Regions from separate parts of the Homo sapiens genome. Here region 2 is linked to region 1. The links are contacts of gene promoters, found by promoter capture Hi-C in blood cells and fetal thymus (Javierre and others, 2016). All regions are on one chromosome and are shown on one strand. The core of a region is centred on a gene start or on the middle of the fragment in contact, and the rest is flanking DNA. Distances in the headings are between cores, read along the strand shown. Region 1 holds the start of LIMD2 (LIM domain containing 2). Region 2 overlaps TLK2 (tousled like kinase 2).

Region 1 (3,654 bases), core at 111-2,610:
AGGCGAGGCGGGGGCGGGCAGGGCAGGGGCGCACCTGAGCTTGGTGTGACAGTGCTTGCAGCAGAAGCAAGAGTTGTGGAAAATGAGCTTGTCGGCCACCAGCCGCTCCATGGGGTACACGGTCTTCTGGCAGGCGGCGCAGGTCTCCTTCACCTGGGCCCGCAGGCTGAAGGACTGTGCGGGAAGCTCAGCCAGGTGCTGCCCCAGTGCTCATCCCGCTCCCTCACACCCCTCCTCCCGCACACCCGGCCCCAGGCCCCTACCTTGGAGCGCTGCACCGTGCTGCTGCCGCCGCCTTTGGCGTCCTGAGGGAGAGGGGCGGTCAGGGCAGGGGCAGCTCCGGGAGGCCCTGGATCAGGGCTGCAGCCATCAGCCCAAGGCCCAGGGGCGCGCCGCAGGGCACAAAGGGGGCCGGCAAACTCTGATGCCTCTCCCCTTCACCCCAGGCCAGGCTCCTGTCCGGGGGGCCCTCCCACCCAGCCGGGCACTTACATGAGAGGGGGTGGCCTGGGCGGCTCCTGCAGCCTGGAACATGGCTCGTTGGAGGTGGAAGCCTCGGGTGGAGAAGCGGCACCCGCTGGGTTCTGCAAGGGGAAGTCAGTCGGGAGGGCCCCGCCAGCCCGGCCCCAGCCTGCAGGGTGGGGGGTGTTGACAGGCAGGGGCTGGGGGGATTGCGGTTGGGACTTTCCCTAAGTCATTTCCTGTTGCTCTTGGTCTTGCCACTTCCGCCCCTCACCCACCTCCCCCACCCCTGCTCCCCAGGGGCCGGGGTCCCGAGTGGCACCGTCCCTCGGAAGAACAAAGTTAGCGGGAGCGGAGGGGCCGGGGGCTCCCGCGCAGCCGCCGTGTGCGTCCCGCGGGCTGGGACCGCTTGGGGTGAGGGGAGGTCGGGGCCGGCGGGGCCGCGATGAGAAGCCGCTGCCCCGACCTGACCCCGGCCCTCGCTGCCCTGCGCCGCGCCCGGGCGTCCAGGCCTAGGCTGCGCAGCCCCTGGACAGCGCCCGAGGTCCCCGCCCGCCCCGCCCCTCGGCCCCCGACCTGGCCCCGCGAGGACCGGACCCCAGACCCCGACGCCGCGAGCCCCGCCAGCGGGTCTCGGCTCCGCCCAGCCGGGGGCCGGCCCTGAAACGAGGACTCGAGCCTGTGCGCCCCGGGCGAGAGCGGCTCGCAGACTCGCCGGGACCCCACGGGCGGCCCTCACCCCACACCCCTCGGCGCCTCTCCCGGTTCCGGAGCCGGACGCGGCCCCTCCCCCCGCGGCTCTCACCAGGCCCGGCCTGGGCCGCGGGGCGGGATCGGTCTCCGGGGGCGCACGGGTACGAGGAGGGCGCGGGCGCGAGCTGCTGCCGCTACCAGTGGTCCCCGAGCCACCGCCGCCGCCACCGCCTTATCGCTGCACCGCCCCCGCCGGCCCCCGCCCCGCGCCCGCCCATTGGCTCCGCCGCGCCCGGAGCCGCCTTCGGGGCCCCGGCGCCGCCGCCGACCCCCCTCCGCGCTTTGTCTTCCCCTCGCCGCCGTCCCCGCCTTTGTCTGTCCCCCGCCCCGGCTCCGCGCTCCCGGCTCCGCAGCGCCCCGCGGGCCTCGCGCTCGCAGGCCTCGGGTACCGGCCGCGCCGTCTGCCCATCCCGACGGCGGCCCGGCGTGGGGAAGCAACGGTGGCAGGGACAGGATGGAAGGGCCGCGCTCCGCATCCTACTGGGAGGGGACGAGTTCAGGCTGCGGCGGCTGCGGTCGCGGGACACTGGGCGCTCCCGGCCTGGCTCCGGGATAACCGGGCGGGGCCTGGGCCATTCACTGCCTCGGTTTCCCCCGGTTGGCCTCGCGCGTAGGCGCCGGCGCCCCCATCCCCGCCCAGAGCTGTGGGGCCGCAGAGACCCAGCCGGGGCGACCCCGGAGCCTGGCCCGGGGTCCCTCGGGCGGCCGAGTCCTCCCGCCGCCAGGGGCCGCCCCCGCCCCTTTGCGGCCCACGAGGCTGGCGGCGGCGTCCGGGCACGCGGTCTCCAGGCCCGGCCGCGAGGCTGCGGGGAGGAGCCTGCACGAGGGCCCGGCAGCCCCGGCAGCCCCCCCAGCCCTCGGCGCCTCTGCAACCCTGCGACGGGCTGGGGAGGCCGGTATGCGTGGTTCCCGGAGCACCCGTCCCCCGAGGCTCCACGTACTCAAGCGTTTCTGGGGCGGAATTCTGTGGGCAGCAACGGGGGCCCCCTCTCCAACAAGCGCACCTCATTTCTCACGTGGGAGCCGCGGCCCAGAGAGCTGAGGTGACAGAGCTTGGGCCGCAGAGCTGCTCCCTCCCTGCAGCCGCACAGCAGGCCGGAGGCACAGCCGGCGAGAGACGGCCACTCGCTTTGGAGCGGCGGCGAGGCCGGCGCCTTCCCGGGCACCAGGGACTGCGTGGCTTGGCCGGAAATCAGGCTAGAAGCAGCTCCGGGAAGCACAGCCCTTAGCCCAGCGCCTTCCCACACTGTGGCAGGAATAGCACTGGCGGCCCACGCGCTTGTCAGGGAACAGAACAGCTCTCGCCCGACGCCTGGCAGGGGAGCAGGGAGGCTGCAGCTTCCCCAGCGACCAGCTGTTTCCCAGGCTGGCGGACTCCACGGACCGGCTCCGCGTCTCCTCTCCAGCCTTCTGTTCTCTCTAGAGGAAGATCTGCGTTTTGTCTGCACTGTGGGCCGACTCTCTAGTGGGGAGCGTCAGACCCTCTAAAGTGGCTGCCTCTCGGGAAAGCTTCCACACCTGTCATCAGATTCTCCAAAGGGGCTGTTTGATGCAAGAAACGGGAAGCCCCGGGGGTACTAGGAGCAGGGCTTGCTGCCATTGGGCATGGTGAGGCCCCGGCACCCTGCCCAGGACGGGCCTGTGGGCTGAGCTGCAGATGGGCATTGAGGATGCCCCAACAGCAAGGTGCAGAAGGCATCCAGAAGCAAAGGAAACTGATGACCAGCGTCAAAAACAAACAAAAAAAGGGAACTTGGCTCGGCGGTGGCTCACGCCTGTAGTCCCAGCACTTTGGGAGGCAGAGACAGGTGGATCACGAGGTCAGAAGTCCAAGACCAGCCTGGCCAACATGGTGAAATCCCGTCTCTACTAAAAATACAAAAATTATCCAGGCGTGGTGGTGTGTGCCTGTAATCCTAGCTACTCGGGAGGCTGAGGCAGAAGAATCGCTTGAACCCGGGAGGTGGAGCCTACAGTGAGTCAACATGAAGCCAGTGCACGCCAGCCTGGGCGACAGACTCTGTGTTTGTGTGTGTGTGGGGGGGGGAGGGCGGGGCGAGGCGAAGGGAACTTGAGGTTTAAAGCAGGGGGAGGAGGGCCGGAAATGCTCCCCGCCGCCCCCGACACTCACTCGCCCCAGGCCCCATCCTAGCCCAGGGTCAGTGTCATTCCCTTCACCTTAGCCTCTCACTGCCCAAAGAGGCTTACTTTTCTTCTTTAAACTGCTGTTAAAATTTGGGAGGAAACGGAAAGCAAGGGCACCTGATGGTTCAGTGCAGCTTCAGGTTAGAGGGGCATTTGAGGTGCCTGAGCTGGGGGAGGGCCTTCCCCCTGAGGGACTGGGAGAAGGGTAAGCCATGTGCCCTGGAAGCACTGCAGGGAGCCTCAGATTTGCACCCCCTGGCTCACACTCGCTGGCGCCAGCCAGCATGGCAGGGA
Region 2 (3,286 bases), core at 694-3,193, 1.1 Mb before region 1:
CATATGAAATCTATACAGGAAAAAGTGACTACAATTTACCAGAAGTTTATCCATGTCTGTTAGCCATGATCTAAAAGTTTTTGAGGCACATTTCTTCACATCTCTTGTCACCTGTCTTCCCCTAGCCACCCGCACCCAAGCTACCTCTGCCTGCCAGTTTTATGCTTCTATTTCTGCCTACTATTACCTTTGGCCATTAGAACCATAAAAGATACCTGAAACTCAGGCCTTTAACTCTATGGTTGTAAAAGTGTGTTAATAAAGCTTCCTCTTCCATTTTGAGGTGGTCACACAAGCCACATATTGGTGTATATAAAGAATGGCCCCCAGTTTTTTTTAGTCCAAATACAAGTCTCTCTTCCTGGCTTAATGGGATGAGGGATTTGCTTCAAGAGTTGCAAGAGAAGGCTCTATAGCACCAACGGAGGGGCAACACATGTTATTTGTACCCTAGGGAAGGTGGTCAAATCACTTTATCTTTGGAACTGAAAGGTCCTAGGCCTTAGCAGAGAGTACTGACTGTCTGGGAATCAGAGGTAGAGGAGGAAGCAGAGGGGCATGGCGTTCACAACACAGCATCAGCCCTGTGCTCATCGTGAAGCCTGCCAATAACACCATGGACACAATGCCCCGGTTTCTGTTGCTCCTTACTGCTTGTGGAAATGGTACCTGTTGTAAAAAGTCAGTCCCTAAATTAAAACTTTGAAATTACAGATTTAAAATAGAAGCTGCATTTACAATGTTTATTCACTGTGGTGGTTATTGTGGGCTAGTGTTCCTGTCACTAAGTGATACAAAAATATCTGCTGCTGGAAATTCTAGAAACAGGTCTATACCTCTGCTATATAAATTCACTGGAATTTGGATTTGAGCTTTGTGTTTGATCTTTTTTTTTTTAAGGCACAGTTTTTTTGCATTTAAAATAGTTACTGCTGTAGTTGCTTACCTACAAAAATTCAGTGATTAGAATTTAAGTAAAAATTATGTGATGCTAGGGATTTTGCTTCAAAGTAGTCTGTTGGGAGAAATGGTGGAGATTGGCCACATGTTGATAATTCTTGAAGCTGGATGGTGCTTACTTAGGGGGTCATTTTACTGTTCTTTCTGCTTTAGATTATAGTTGAGATTTTTAATAATTTAAGACAGGGCTTCTGAGAAGATTAAGTGTTACAGGTTTCTATGAAGGTTTGAAGAGTCTCCAAATTGGTAGAAATACTGTCATAATCACTATCTTCAGTATGTCAGATAAAAATAATCCTGAAGGGTATAACAAATTATAAGTAACTATTTGCAGTATTTACTGGTTACAGAATTCTTCTACATTGAATACTTTATTTATTTATTTATTTATTTATTTATTTATTTATTTATTTATTTATTTGAGACGGAGTTTCGCTCTTGTTGCCTGGGCTGGAGTGCAATGGTGTGATCTCAACTCACTGCAGCCTCCGCCTCCCGAGTTCAAGTGATTCTCCTGCCTCAGCCTCTCAAGTAGCTGGGTTTACATGCACCCGCCACCACGCCCAGCTAATTTTTTTGTATTTTTAGTAGAGATGGGGTTTCACCATGTTGGCCAGGCTAGTCTTGAACTCCTGATATCAGGTGATCCACCCGCCTCGGCCTCCCAAAGTGCTGGGAATATAGGCGTGAGCCACCACGCCTGGCTGAATACTTATTTTAAAGAAGTGACCCATAGACTATGCCTTGAGAATAATTGTTTTTTTGTATGGGGATTTTGATTGTGATGGAATATGCAACTATATACATATATATATATATATTTTTAGCACAGTTTAGTATCATAGAGCTGTCTTTTACTCTCCTCTCAAAATCCTTGATAGTAAGTTAGAATGCTTATTATTTTCAGTATTATTTGGATGAAGAATTAATTTCATTCACTTACAGGTGGAGAAACTGAGACCTAGAAAGGGATTTGCCAGACATGTACAATCAAGTGACAGGTCTTTTTATATTCTAAAAATCTTGCTAGCCAGGTGTGGTGGCTCATGCCTGTAATCCCAGCACTTTGGGAGGCCAAGGCGGGCGGATCATGAGGTCAAGAGATCGAGACCATCCTGGCCAACATGGTGAAACCCCGTGTATACTAAAAATAAAAAAATTAGCTGGGCGTGGTGGTGCACGCCTGAAATCCCAGCTATTCGGAGGTTGCAGTGAGCTGAGGTCACACTACTACACTCCAGCCTGGCAATGGAGCGAGACTCTGTCTCAAAAAAAAAAAAATCTTGCTAACTTATTTTTCTGCATTTGGATGAGTTCAACAACTCCTATTCTTTCCTGCCACTGCCATAAAAAAGTCACAAATATATTTAAATGGTCATTTTAGAATTAAGGTTATACTTATCCAAGATCATATTTAAGTTATGTATATTAAAAAATCAAGAACTGGCCAGGTGCAGTGGCTCATGCCTGTAATCCCAGCACTTTGGGAGGCTGAGGCGGGCGGATCACGAGGTCAGGAAATCGAGACCATCCTGGCTAACACGGTGAAACCCTATCTCTACTAAAAATACAAAAAATTAGCCCAGCGTGGTGGCACACGCCTGTAATCCCAGCTACTTGGGTGGCTGAGGCAGGAGAATCGCTTGAACCTGGGAGGCAGAGGTTGCAGTGAGCCGAGATCGTGAGTGAAGTGGGACTAGTGAGAATATTTACCACTCTTAGGAAATTGAGAACTATTTTGATGCCCTATAGGGACATTACTGCCTCCCTAAGTTAGAGTGTCTTTTCTTACTTTGAGATGGGGGTCTCACTCTCTTGCTGGAGTGCAGTGGCATGATCTTGGCTCACTGCAGTCAACCTCCCCCAGGCTCCGGTGATCCTCCCGCCTCAGCTTCCCAAGCAGCTGGAGCTACAGGGGTGTGCTACCAGGCGCAGCTAATTTTTGTATTTTTAGTAGAGATAGGGTTTCGCCATGTTGCCCAGGCTGGTCTCAAATTCTTGAGTTCAAGCGATCTGCTGGCCTTGTCCTCCCAAAGTGCTGGGATTACCACACCCCGCCTAGAGTGTCTTTTCATTGACTTTCCATATAAGTCTAAGTTGACTGTTAAAATTCATATATTTTGGCCAGGTGTGGTGGGTCACACCTATAATCCCAGTACTTTAGGAGGTCGAGCTGGGAGGATCACTTGAGTCCAGGAGTTTGAGACCAGCCTGGGCAACACAGTGAGACCCCACTGCTACAAATTTTTTTTAAAAACTACCCAGGCATGGTGGTGCCTGCCTTTAATCCCAGCTACTTGGGAGGCTGAGGTGGGGAAACCACCCG

Evidence for each region. The method cuts DNA at HindIII sites, captures the fragments that hold promoters and counts their contacts. A CHiCAGO score of 5 or more calls a contact.
Region 2: a contact is called between a fragment that was not itself captured here and the fragment with the promoter of LIMD2 in region 1, in 1 of 17 cell types (erythroblasts). The highest score is 6.0, in erythroblasts.

What each region holds. Positions count from the first base shown.
Region 1 is chr17:63,698,765-63,702,418 of GRCh38, forward strand. It overlaps LIMD2 (LIM domain containing 2), which reads right to left and starts at 1,361. Exons shown (of 5, transcript NM_030576.4): 1 at 1,268-1,361; 2 at 493-584; 3 at 264-305; 4 at 35-174. The coding sequence starts at 534. It overlaps LOC729683 (a long non-coding RNA gene), which reads left to right and starts at 1,574. Exons shown (of 1, transcript NR_046273.1): 1 at 1,574-3,654. RefSeq lists silencers at 240-469, 560-1,019, 1,110-2,069, 3,260-3,339 and enhancers at 1,774-2,359, 2,360-2,944, 2,740-2,839. The HindIII fragment of the contact is 14,945 bases long and covers 1-2,722 here.
Region 2 is chr17:62,602,641-62,605,926 of GRCh38, forward strand. All of the region lies in intron 19 of TLK2 (tousled like kinase 2), which reads left to right. Among named protein-coding and RNA genes, the nearest start is that of MRC2, 23 kb to the right of the region's middle. The HindIII fragment of the contact is 3,362 bases long and covers 263-3,286 here.